Regions from separate parts of the Homo sapiens genome. Here regions 1 and 3 are each linked to region 2. The links are contacts of gene promoters, found by promoter capture Hi-C in blood cells and fetal thymus (Javierre and others, 2016). All regions are on one chromosome and are shown on one strand. Each heading gives the region's core, a stretch centred on a gene start or on the middle of the fragment in contact. The rest is flanking DNA. Distances are from core to core; before and after follow the strand shown. Region 1 overlaps ASXL1 (ASXL transcriptional regulator 1). Region 2 holds the start of PLAGL2 (PLAG1 like zinc finger 2). Region 3 overlaps NOL4L (nucleolar protein 4 like).

Region 1 (4,207 bases), core at 51-2,550, 220 kb after region 2:
TGTCTTCACACTCCCCATCTCACACTCTCCCTCTCATGGTAACTGTGTGGTGAAGGATTGGTTAATTTTTTTTTTTTTTTTTTTTTTTAAAGACAGAGTCTTGCACTGTCTCCCAGGCTGGAGTGCAATGGCATGATCTTGGCTCACTGCAACCTTTGCCTTCCAGGTTCAAGTGATTCTTGTGCCTCAGCCTCCCGAGTAGCTGGGATTACAAGCGTGCACCACCATGCCCGGCTAATTTTTGTATTTTTAGTAGAGACGGGGTTTCACCATGTTGGCCAGGCTGGTCTCGAACTCCTGACCTTGTGATCCACCCGCCTTGGCCTCCCAAAGTGCTGGGATTGCAGGCATGAGCCACCGTGCCCGGCCTATAGAATTTTTTATATGTAGGATTTAGTGAAAGATCACCCATTATTAATTTTTTTAAAAGCTTCATGATGAAAATTATTCTTGTAAAATGTTAAAATCTTGAATCCTAGGGCATGTTTTCTGGCACCTGTTATTTTCAGTAACCCATTTCGTTTTTGTCAGACATATAGGGTTAATGTATGAAAAGTCAATTATGTCAAACTTATAGAGTTTATATGGAAAGATTAATGATCTTTTACAAATGCAGAATTGGCTGGATGTGGCTAATTGTAGAATTGGCCTGTAACCTAGCACTTAGGGAGGCTGAGGTGGGAGGATCGCTTGAGTCCAGGAGTTTGATTTTTTTTTTTAATTTTTTATTTTTTGAGACAGTCTCACTCTGTCGCCCTGGCTGAAGTGCAATGGCATGATCTCAGCTCACTGCAACCTCCACCTCCCAGGTTCAAGCGATTCTTGTGCCTCAGCTTCCCAAGTAGCTGGGATTACAGGTGTGTGCCACCATGCCTAGCTAATTTTTTGTGTGTGTGTGTATATTTAGTAGGGGGGGTTTCATCATGTTGGCCCAGGCTGGTCTCGAACTCCCAGCTTCAGGTGGTCCCCCCATCTCGGCCTCCCAAAGTGCTGGATTACAGGTGTGGGCCACAATACCCAGCATTTTTTATTTATTTATTTATTTATGTATTTGAGATGGAGTTTCACCCTGTTGCCCAGGCTGGAGTGCAATGGCATGATCTTGGCTCACTGCAGCCTGCATGTCCCGGGTTCAAGCGATCCTCCTGCCACAACCTCCCGAGTAGCTGGGAATACAGGCATGTACACCACACCCAACTAATTTTTGTATTTAAGTAGAGTCAGGGTTTCATTATGTTGGTCAGGCTGGTCTCGAACTCTGGACCTCAAGTGATCTGCCTGGCTTGGCCTCCCAAAATGCTGGAATTACAGGCTTGAGCCACTGCACCTGGCCAAGCCCAGGACTTTGAGACCAGCCTGGGCAACAGACCAAGACCCTGTCTGTACAATAAAAATTATGCAGTATTAGAATAGCAAATCTTACTCTTAAAAGTTTTGTTTTCCTTGTCTTTTTACTGAAAATGCATGGCTTTAGAAACTTCTGGGTAGTTTGAATTGCAGACAACCAGGCCCTATTCCTGTTTGTTTAACTAATGAGATTTGTAAACAGTACTTGGTTTCCCCAGACTCTAGGACCTAGAGGAAGGAAATTTTGATTTAGCTCTTGGTAAAGCATTTAACACCTAATTTTTCTTTTTCATTGTTATTTTCTTGATCACAGAAAACAATACATGTTAATAGTAGAAAATACCCACAATTGAAAAGAATATAAAGCACTTACTAAAACTCTACCACCTAGGCTAGGTACGGTGGCTCACACCTGTAATCCCAGTACTTTGGGAGGCTGAGGTGGGTGGATCACCTGAGGTCAGGATTTCAAGACCATCCTGGCCAACATGGTGAAACCCCATATCTACTAAAACTACAAAAATTAGCTGGGCGTGGTGGCAGCCACCTGTAATCCCAGCTGCTCGGGAGGCTGAGGCAGGAAAATCGCTTGAACCCAGGAGGAGGAGGTTGCAGTGAGCCGAGATCATGCCGCTGCACTCCATCCTGGGTGACAGAGCGAGACTCTTGTCTCAAAAAACAAACAAAAAAACTGCCACCTAGAGATGGTGGTGGCCAACAGCTTAGTAAGAATTTCTCTTGCATTTTTCTATGCAAACACATTCAAATTTTCATTTTTTAAAAAAGATGATAGAATCATACTGTATGAATTTAATTGCCTAATTAAGCTTGTGTATCATCGTTTCTCTTGTCATTAAATGCTGTACAGCTTTCTTTTAAATGGCTATCTGTGGTAGTGTTCCTTGAAGGAAATACCTTAAAATTTTTTGTTTTTAAACTTTTATAATTGTGGGAATGTAATACAGTGAATGCATAGGACACAAATGTTCAGCTTAAGGAATTATTATAAAGTGAACACCCTGTAACTGCCACTTAGATCACGACATCAAATATGGCCAGCAGCCAGGCGCACCTCCCCTACCCCCCACTGCCCCTTCCCAGTCACAGCCCCATTCTTCCAGCTGAAGGTAACTTCTGTCTTGACTTTATGAAAGTTATTTTCTTGCTTTCCTTTAGATTACCTACCCGTCTTTGCATTCCTAATGCTGTAGTTTAGTTGAGCTTATTTTGAACTTTTCACAAACGGAATCATCAACTATGCATTATTTTGTATCTGGCTTTCATTCACTATTTTGTTTTTAATATTCATCTATGTCGTTAGTAGCTATAGTTCATTCATTTTTTGTTGCTGTATAATCATCCATTTATTGAATGTACTACAATTTGATTCTGCCTTTGGCAGCCACTTTGATTGTTTATAATCCAGATTTCAAATGCTGCATCATGAACATGTGGGTTGTGATTTGTGTAGATGTGCATGTACTTCTCTAAGGAATCCAAGCCTAGGAGGGACGTTGCTGGGTCAGAGGATGTTTGTATCTTCAACTGTACCAGATAAGGCCAAATTGTATTCTCAAATGCTTGGATCTGTTTTCAGTGTACTTGTTCTACTCCTAATTAACACTACTTGATATTGTCAAACTTTAATTGTAGCCATTCTGATGGATGTGGTAGTATCTCATTGCGGTTTTAATTTGCATTATTTTGCATTTTCCTTATTGTTAGTGAGATTAAATACCCTTTTATATGTTTTGGCTACTTCAGTATCCTCTTGTGCAGTGCCTAATTCACATCTTTTATTTTTCTTCTGAGTTGCCTTTTGCCCATTGATTTATATTTGTTCCCCCTCTCTCCCCGCCCCCAAGAAGGAGTCTGGCTCTGTCACCCAGGCTGGAGTACAGTGGCACAATCTTGGCTCACTAACCTCTGCCTCCTTCGTTCAAGTGATTCTCCTGCCTCAGCCTCCCAAGTAGCTGGGACTGCAGGTGTGCGCCACCACGCCCAGCTAATTTTTGTATTTTTAGTAGAGACAGGGTTTCACCATGTTGACCAGGCTTGTCTTGAACCCCTGACCTCAAGTGATCCATCCGCCTTGGCCTCCCAAAGTACTGGGATTACAGGTGCAAGCCACCATGCCCGGCCTGATTTATAAATGTAGTCTAAATACAAGTTCTTTATTGGTTATGTAAGTTGCAGATATCTTTTTCAGCTCTGTAGGTAATAATGTTTTTTGATGAATAGGAGGTCTTAATTTTAATGTAGTTTAATTGATTTGTTTTCTCCTTTGTAAGAATCAATATTTTTCATGTCCTGTGTAAATCTCGTATTGGGATAAAAGATACATATATATTTTTTAGGTTTTGGCTAATAGTTTTCCGTTGGCAGCATGTGAACCTTTTTATGCCATTTTTACTTTCATCAAGGGTGTATGTATGATTTTCTCATACTCTTGTCAGAACTGGAGATTTGGGGTAACTTTGCCAGTGTAATAGACTTTCTTAATTCATTAAGGAGTATTTTATCTTAGTTTGCCCATGAGAGAAGAGAGATTAAATTTGTTTTATTATACCAAGAACATGGCAGTCAATAAGCATAACTAAAAATATTATTTAGCTTTTGATTCTGAAGACCATGTATGGCCAGTAAGGAAAAGAGGTAAAGATGTAGAAAACTGTTTTCTTTTTTTTCTTTCTTTTTTTTTTTTTTTTTTTTTTTTGAGATGGAGTCTTGCTCTGTCGCCAGGCTGGAGTGCAGTGGCGTAATCTCAGCTCACTGCATCCTCCACCTCCTGGGTTCAAGTGATTCCCCTGCCTTAGCCTCCCGAGTAGCTGGTACTACAGGCGCGTGCCACCACACCTGG
Region 2 (3,987 bases), core at 296-2,795:
ACACTGGTTGGCTGGAAAACAGTGAGAAGAGGGGAAATGGGAATGCTGTCGCCCCCTTCCCCCCCGCCCACTCCAGAGTGGTGGGAGAATTAAATTACAGGGAGGCTGGAGAGTCTCAATGACTTGCACCATTCCAAGAAACATCAAACAGGATTAACAGGGGTTGGATTTACTCTCAGGCTGCTAATTCTTCTGTCAGTGTAGATGGGCCCTCTTTGGAGTCTCTTTGATTCACTATTTCCTCAGATTCCTGCTGCCTCCCACTCCTGGGGAGGCCTTGAACAAATGGCTGCAACTCATCACAACCCCATTTTCATGGGGAGAAAACGTGATTCGACACCCCCGCTCCCAATCTGGTGGCCTCACCTTAGGAGAGAAAGGTTAGAAACCCAAGACCAGACTCTACACACAGTCCCATGGCTGACAGGTGGAAAAACACACAAGCCAGGAGACAGGCTAAGCTTGCAGGTGAAAGCACCGATTCCCCCACACAGGTGTCCCCATATCCTCCACCTAACAGGCCCCTTTCTCCCCACCAAGGTGGGCCACAGCCTGGTCCCAGGCCAACTTTTAGATCACCCCACTGTGGTGTGGGAAAGGTTCAATTCCCCGAGCCTGGGAGAGATGGGAGTGGATGAGGGCTGGAGAAGCAAAGGAAATCCAGGGAGAAGTCTGGAGGGAGTCTCTGGGATGGGAAGGAAGAGCGAGGATGGGAAGGAATCATGAGCAACTTTCCTGGGTCTCTAAGGGATCCCCACAAGAATGAAATGGGGGATTATAAGGGCTGGAAGGCTGGGGGGATGGGGATAGTCAGAAGTGTATCCTCTGAATTTCAAGAGGGTCTCAAAATGGGTAACGGGATGGAAGATGTCGAAAGCCTGGGAGTATGGCCACTGAGGAGGGAACTACAGGTGGGGCTTATTCGACTTCTCCAGACCCAGATATTTGAGGGAAGCCTCAAAGGGAGTTATGTAAGTCTGGAAAATGAAACAGGGTACAGAGCGGGCTATCTGGAGCAGGAAAGGGGGTTATGTGGGTCTGGGTAGGCGTGTCGGAGGGAGGGAGCAGGTGCAGCTTATCTGCGTCCCCCAGACCCGGGTCCCTGGTAAGGTCAGCAGCGCCTTATCTGGGTCTCCAGGGAGCCTAGGGGTCGGGAATGGGGGACCCTCAGGACTGCGTCTCCAGGTCTCGGAAGGGAGGGGACCGGTGGCTTCCTCGGGTCCCCCAGACACAGGTATGGGGTCCAGGGAGAGTTTTCGTCACCCCAGGGCCTATCTGGGGCCGGGTTGGCGCAGACCGGGCCCCGGGTCGGGGGTGTGGGCGACCGCGCTGAGGGGCCCGAGATGAGGCGCGCCGCCGCTCCGGGTACAGGGCGCGCGGACGCAGCGAGACGGCCTCCCGCCCCTCTCCCCGCCGTCCCCTGGGGCCCTCGCCGGCACTCACCGCGCTCGGGGCCCCACGCTGCGGGCCGGGCCGCGCTCGGGCTCCGCCAGGCCCCCTCAGGCCCCGGTAGTGGCGGCGGTCGGGCCATTGTGCGGTGCATTGTGGGAGCCGCGCGAGCGGGCGCTCGGGTCGTGGAGGGGGCGGTGCCGCGGGATCTCTATGGTCCCGCCCGCCCGCGGGCTAGAGCGGCCGGGGCGGTGCGCGGGCGGCGCGCAGGGACCGCTGGGAGCGGGGCGGGCGCTCGCGTCCCTCCTTCCCTCCCCGACTGTGCGCCGCGGCTGGCTCGGGTTCCCGGGCCGACATGGGCGCCGCCGCGTGGGCACGGCCGCTGAGCGTGTCTTTCCTGCTGCTGCTTCTGCCGCTCCCGGGGATGCCTGCGGGCTCCTGGGACCCGGCCGGTTACCTGCTCTACTGCCCCTGCATGGGTAAGGCCTCCCAAGCCCTCTGCTCAGATGGAGAAACTGAGGCCGGGAGAGGAAAAGCCACTCCTCAGATGCGCCCAGAGACACCTTCACAGGTCCAGGAGAGAACCTCAGAGCGGGACGGGGCATGCTCTTCTCCTCTCTGCCTTAGTTGCAAGGGCACAGAGGGGCCAACGTGTCCAACTTTCCATTTGACAGATGAGAAAACTGAGGCTGGGAGAGGTTACGTGACTTGCTTGAGGTCTAAGCCAGTCCAGGGTCCAGTAAATGGAGTTAGTGGGGCAGGACTTGATGTCACTGACCCACGCTGGCTCCTGGTGATTTTTCATTGATTCAGCAAATATTTATGGGGCACCTATTCTGTGCCGGGCCCTGTTCTCTGTACTGGGAATACCGCAGTGAATAAGATAAACTCCGTGTCCTTGTAGAGCCTTCATTTTAGTTGGGGAAGACAAACAATTGAGAATAAGTAGGCCAGGCGCGGTGGCTCACTTCTGTAATCCCACCACTTTGAGAGACCGAGGCAGGATCACTTGAAGCCAGGAGCTCGAGATCAGCCTAGGCAACATAGTGAAAATCCAATCTCAAAAAAAAAAAAAAAAAAAAAAAGCAGAGCGTGGTATCGTGTGCTTGTAGTCCCTTGGGAGTTATCTGGGCGGCTACTTGGGAGGCTGAGGTGGGAGGATCTCTTGAGCCGAGGAATTCGAGGCTGCAGTGAGCTCTGATCGTGCCACCGCACTGCCAGCCTGGGTGACAGAGTGAGACCCTGTCTCGAAACAAGCAAACCCAAAAAGGGGTAAACATAAAACAATAAATACATAGTTTCATAGAGGATGATGAATACTAAGGGAAAATAAAGAGAGCAGGGTAGGGGAGAATCTAAAGACCATGCCAGGTGCACAGTTGAAATGGGTATGGTGGATCATCATTGTGGAAGTGGATGATCTTAAGGCCCCCAGTGGCTTCCAGACTCCTGACCATGACTTTCAGGGCCCTGAATGATGTGGCCTCCACTGGCCATCTCCACAACTCCCTTCTCTGCTGATCCTCCAGCTGCAGCCACACTTAACTCCTTTGCGTTCCTCACACATGCTCAGGTCTTCCAGTCTGCACTGCTGCAGGTGGCGGTCCCTATGCCTGGAATCCTCTCCTCCATTTCTGCCTGACCAGCTGTTTCCCATCCTTTAGATCTCAGCCTAAATGTCACCAGAAAGGATTTCACTGACCTCTACCCAAGTAATCTCCTCATTACCCTATCACCAAACTTTTTTCATCTCTTTCTGGCAATTATCAACATTTTTCATGTATTTGTTTACATGTTTAGTGTCTCTGCAGTGAACTGTGAGTGCCTTAGGGGCAGAGGCCTTGTCCTTCTTGTTCATTCCTGTATCCCAGCACCTAGCACAGAGTCTGGCACATTGTGGCCTCTCAATCATATTTGTGAAATGAATGAACAGGTGCCATGCTGGGATTAAGAAAAGGAATCACACAGGGTCCTTGCTTCTGAGGCATTCACAGGCTGAGGAATCAGCCAGTACGAAGGCCAGGAAGTGAGCAAAGATACTTGAGGAAAATTGAAGAACTGAAGTAGCTCAGAGCCAAGGTGGGAGGTAAAGGAGGGAGAGTGAGTATGGCAGGGGATTGGTGAAAGGAGCCCAGTGAATGAGGCATTCGAGTTGCCCGTCCATGTGCAGGTGAATGGAGATAGAGGTAGAAGCTCTTCTGGCTGAGGGACAGCAAGATCAGAGGCATTGGGTGGGGATGGGAATTGTAGAGCATGTTGGGGAAACAGCAAGAAACCTGGAGTGGCGGAAGCAGTTGTTGCAGGACCTGAAGAGCCTTGGATATCAGACCCAAGAGTCCAGACTTGTTCTTATGCTGCCAGCTCCCCTAGTTCTCCTTGGTATCCCTGACTTTCTACCCCTGGCTCCACAACCTTTCTGAGCCCTGCATGCTCTATGCCCTCCATGCCCCAGGCCTCACCTCACCCGCAATGTACCATTTCCAGGGCGCTTTGGGAACCAGGCCGATCACTTCTTGGGCTCTCTGGCATTTGCAAAGCTGCTAAACCGTACCTTGGCTGTCCCTCCTTGGATTGAGTACCAGCATCACAAGCCTCCTT
Region 3 (4,109 bases), core at 535-3,034, 230 kb after region 2:
GCCTCTCCTCAGGGAGGCAGAATGGTGTAGTGAGTTCCTAGAGTATAGCCTCTGCGACGTGCCAGCTCTGTGTTCTTGGGCCATGTTATTTAACCAGGCTGCCAACTCTCATATATGAATGGGTGTAATAGTTCTTACTTCATGAGGTTGTTAGTGCCTGCCACCTAGGACATAATGACTATTAGTTCACAGCAGGCCAAGGCAATAATTGTTAGGTGAACTTATAGTAGAAATCTATACAGCTACTGCCAGCTACTTCACTCTTGCTCCAGAAAGGAGCTGTCAGGATGTAGGCCTTGTGCCCACTGCGCTGAGGGGTGATGCAGGCTGTGAAGTCACTTTGGACCCTGGCTTTTGGTCTCAGGCCACAGACCTGACCAAAGGTTGAGTGTAGTCCTGAGTTTAGACTGAATATTTGGTCAGGAAGGCTTATTTTGCTCATGGTCCAAAGGACAAGGGAAATAATGTTTCAGAATATAGGAAGAATGGTACTGGCCTGGCAAGGTGTCATTTATTTGCTATCCAGCCTGCTGTAAGACTGTGTTAGAGTGTGTGTGGGTATGTGTGCATGCTAAATAGAGCTGCCTGCATCCATCAGGGGTCTTGATGGCCAAAGCATCTGCCTGCCCTGTCTCCCTGAGAGGAGGGGACCCAGGCTGTGTTGCCCTCGTGTGGGTGTTGTTTGAAGCCATAGAAGTGGCAGGATGTGGAACTTTGGAGATTGCTCCAAAATTGGACAACACCCCTATGCTTCCTCTTGTCTCTGGTCAATTTGAAAGCCTAGAATGAACATCTCTACCGTAAGCCATAGACGAACGCCCTGTGAGAACAACAGTTGTCAGTGCTGTGTTACCTGATATGGGTGGGTCTTAACCTTTTTTTGGGAACTCTCCCCCCATGGAATGCACATACAAAGTTTTTTGGGGTTTTTTTGCAGACTCTCACTCTCTTCAGGCTGGAGTGCAGTGGCGTGATCATAGCTCACTGTAGCCTCGAACTCCTGAGCTCCAGTGGTCCTTCCACCTCATCCTCCCAAGTAGCTCAGGCTACAGGCACGTGCCACCATGCCCAGCTAATATTAAAATTTTTTGTAGAGACTGTTGCCCAGACTAGTCTTGAACTCCAGGCCTCAAGCGATCTTCCCGATCTTCCCGCCAGCACACCTGGCCTCACAAAGTTTTGCATACTGTGTCAGGATTTACCAGCTCCTTAGGCAGCTGGGGCCCTTTGTTTAAGAACCACTGGCTGAGAATAAACCTAATAAAATCTGTGTTTATACAAAAGATCAATTAAGGGAAGATAGGATTTTGCAGAGATTCTTCTTGCAAAGAAATGTAACTACTAAGCTTCCCTAGTGCATTTTAAGTTGGAAAAATAGCATATGCATGTTTTCCTATTTTTCATAAAGGGAGGTTTGCCTGTTTTGTCATTGAATACATTTTAGTTCACTCTTCTGAGGGGACATTCCCATTTGATGAAGTCTTTTATCCACTGTTAACAACAGTGGTGCGGAGCCCCCAAAGGAGCCAGACTAGAATAAGGGAGCACTTTTCTGCCCTCAGGCAATTTCTCCTGGGAATCTCAGTGCTCTGGTGGACTGCAGTATTTCCTGTGGAAGGAGGTAAGTGTTTGCAGGGCTGGCCAGCAGGCCAGCGGGGTCCATGTTCTGGAGCTGTTGTCACAGGTTGTGGGTTTCTAATAGTCTTAATAGTTTGAGGAGTCTCAGTGGTGATCATTTGAGGCAGGAGAAGGAATTTCCGTGGTATTAACTGAGGATTTGCTGCCCCTCAGCAAAAGGAAAGCGGCAAGGGAGGTGTCAAGGGCCATCGTCTTCTGGCTCTCAGTGAGTCTCAGCCCCAAAGTCATGCCCTTCTCCATTTTATGTATTTGGCTACTGCACAGACTTTCTATGAGAAAAAGGATTCTTATGTTATTTAAAAATCAAGGTTTTAATAACTGCCATAAATGTGTATACATATATATGTATATATGTATGTGTGTATATATGTGTATATGTATGTGTATATATGTGTATATGTATGTGTATATATGTGTGTATGTGTGTATGTATGTATATATATGTGTATATATGTATGTATATATGTGTGTGTATATATACACACACACGGAATTTTAGCAAATGTATGCTTTTAACATGCCTAAAGTTGTTTTTAAATCCATGATCATGTTGGTTCCCAGCCATATTCCTACCATTTTTCCTTAAAGCTTAACCTAAACCATATATATAGGATGAAAAAAAATTAGCACAAATAAGTATCTTTGGGAAAAGCAGCCCTTTTGTTTCCTTCAAGGTGGGATCCAGGGTTTTGCATAGAATGGAATGTGCAGCACTGAAGGTTCAGAACCAGGGATCATGTTTGCTCAGTTTTCCAAACTAGCACTTAGGGATTGTTATGGGAATTTGGTTTCAGTCAGTTGGCCATGTGCTAGGGTGAGAGGTTGTGGAAAAGCTACAAGTTTTTTGCTGGTCACTGAATTTCAGCAAGGCGTGTACCCCGTGTGCCTCTGTGTCTGCACGTGGCGGGTAAGGGAACTGAGATTTAAAACAGTGCATGAGAGTTCTGCCTGTGCTCAGCAACTGAAGGGCACCTGGGAAAGGTTCATTTCCTTCCCTTTCTAACAGATGAGGTGCTGGAATTACAGGTTTATTTGTTCTAGAAAATGTACTGAGGACCTTCTGTGTGCCATACTATTGGCTAGGAAAAGGTGGAATCTACTAGTAGAAAGATGTTTCGGTGCCCAACTAGATGAGGAAGGATGAGAAGTGGCAGGCGGTGCTGCTGTTGATAGGACACAGTGGAAGCAGAGCATTCGGTTTGTTGTTCAGTGTTTATTAAGTAGATTCAGTCTTATATATGATATACAGATTCAAAAGGAAAAGGATTCCACATACTTATGAAATCAGTGCATTTAGCAAGTAATACCATGGAGATAACAGCTCGATTAACAGCTCATTGGTCTTTTGTTAAGTGAGGGAGAGAGGGAGTCGGCCTGTGCTAGTCATTCCACAAACAAAACAGAATTTAGTCACATCACGTAGAGAAGACACATTCTAAGAATTAAAATATTAAGCCACATTTACTGGTAAAACTCACTATATAGAACACAAATAATTTTTATAGAGAGCATTGAGGAGGAAGTCCTCACCTGCTTAGAAGAGCCACGTTAAGTTGCATAGGTGCATATCTGTAAAAATATAATTTAGAGGTGAAGCCATTAATAGAGTCACCTTTAAAAGTTGGTGCCATCCACTGTTTGCCTTAAGTGCTTACTATCTGGAGCCCTGTGCCCCTCCCCGGAGGTGGGACCTCATGAAGGAGCTGCCCCCAGAGGAACCCTGAAGAAATGGCTTGTACTATCTGCACTGAAAGTCTTAAATCTCATCTCAGATATGGAACTCATGCTCTTCCAAAACATGTCTAAATTATGCCAGAGGACTAAAGACCTCTTGGGTTGTCCCTAAATCCTGGATGGCTTGATCCTGAAGGCAACATGAGTCATTCTGACCTTCCCACTCCCAGGCTGCCCAGGGAAGAACTACATTCATCCCACAGCTCTGCAGCAAAGTCCTGCCTTCCCTTTTCCTCTGTCCATGCAGTTACCCACCAGCAGCCAATAAGAGGTCTCTCTTCTGACTCCTGCTCCTAAATGGACCACATAATTGAGGCATATGGGCCATCTACCAGGTGGAAAGTGTTTTTCAGCCAATCTGAGTTCTACGTGGTATAGGTTTTTTGTTGTATTTTTAGGTGGAAACGTAGGTAAAAAGTGAGAGGTTTTTGTTTGTGGCTTTGCTAAGCAGATGAGCTTAGTGAGGTGCATCTTCCTCCTCAAGAGCAAGTCTTGCAGAACACACAGGGACTGGGGGCATCTGTACATGTAAACAGTACACTTTCACTGAGTCCAAAATTAGGAGCAAAAATACAAAGGTTCACATTGGTCTTAGGTAGATACAGGCGAAAAAGGATTGAGCTGTTTAGCTCAGAAACAACAAAAACAAAGTTTCTAAAGCACCACTAAATTATATAAAAATCAGACCATGGACGGATTGAAACTGGTATTCTGGTGAAATACTTTACTATTTTGTA

The links. Contacts are between HindIII fragments. The CHiCAGO score rates a contact against its expected background, and 5 or more counts as called.
Region 1: a contact is called between a fragment that was not itself captured here and the fragment with the promoter of PLAGL2 in region 2, in 3 of 17 cell types (erythroblasts, M2 macrophages and megakaryocytes). The highest score is 6.0, in erythroblasts.
Region 3: a fragment that was not itself captured here is called in contact with the fragment with the promoter of PLAGL2 in region 2 in 1 of 17 cell types (erythroblasts); the score reaches 9.9 in erythroblasts.

Annotation. Positions count from the first base shown.
Region 1 is chr20:32,422,516-32,426,722 of GRCh38, forward strand. The region is part of intron 4 of ASXL1 (ASXL transcriptional regulator 1); the gene reads left to right. Among named protein-coding and RNA genes, the nearest start is that of ASXL1, 66 kb to the left of the region's middle. The HindIII fragment of the contact is 1,744 bases long and covers 429-2,172 here.
Region 2 is chr20:32,206,198-32,210,184 of GRCh38, forward strand. It overlaps PLAGL2 (PLAG1 like zinc finger 2), which reads right to left and starts at 1,546. Exons shown (of 3, transcript NM_002657.3): 1 at 1,444-1,546. It overlaps POFUT1 (protein O-fucosyltransferase 1), which reads left to right and starts at 1,683. Exons shown (of 7, transcript NM_015352.2): 1 at 1,683-1,868; 2 at 3,874-3,987. The coding sequence starts at 1,745. RefSeq lists a silencer at 1,333-1,752 and enhancers at 1,517-2,430, 1,893-2,022. The HindIII fragment of the contact is 5,170 bases long and covers 460-3,987 here.
Region 3 is chr20:32,440,228-32,444,336 of GRCh38, forward strand. NOL4L (nucleolar protein 4 like) reads right to left here. Exons shown (of 11, transcript NM_001256798.2): 11 at 2,832-4,109. Among named protein-coding and RNA genes, the nearest start is that of ASXL1, 84 kb to the left of the region's middle. The HindIII fragment of the contact is 880 bases long and covers 1,345-2,224 here.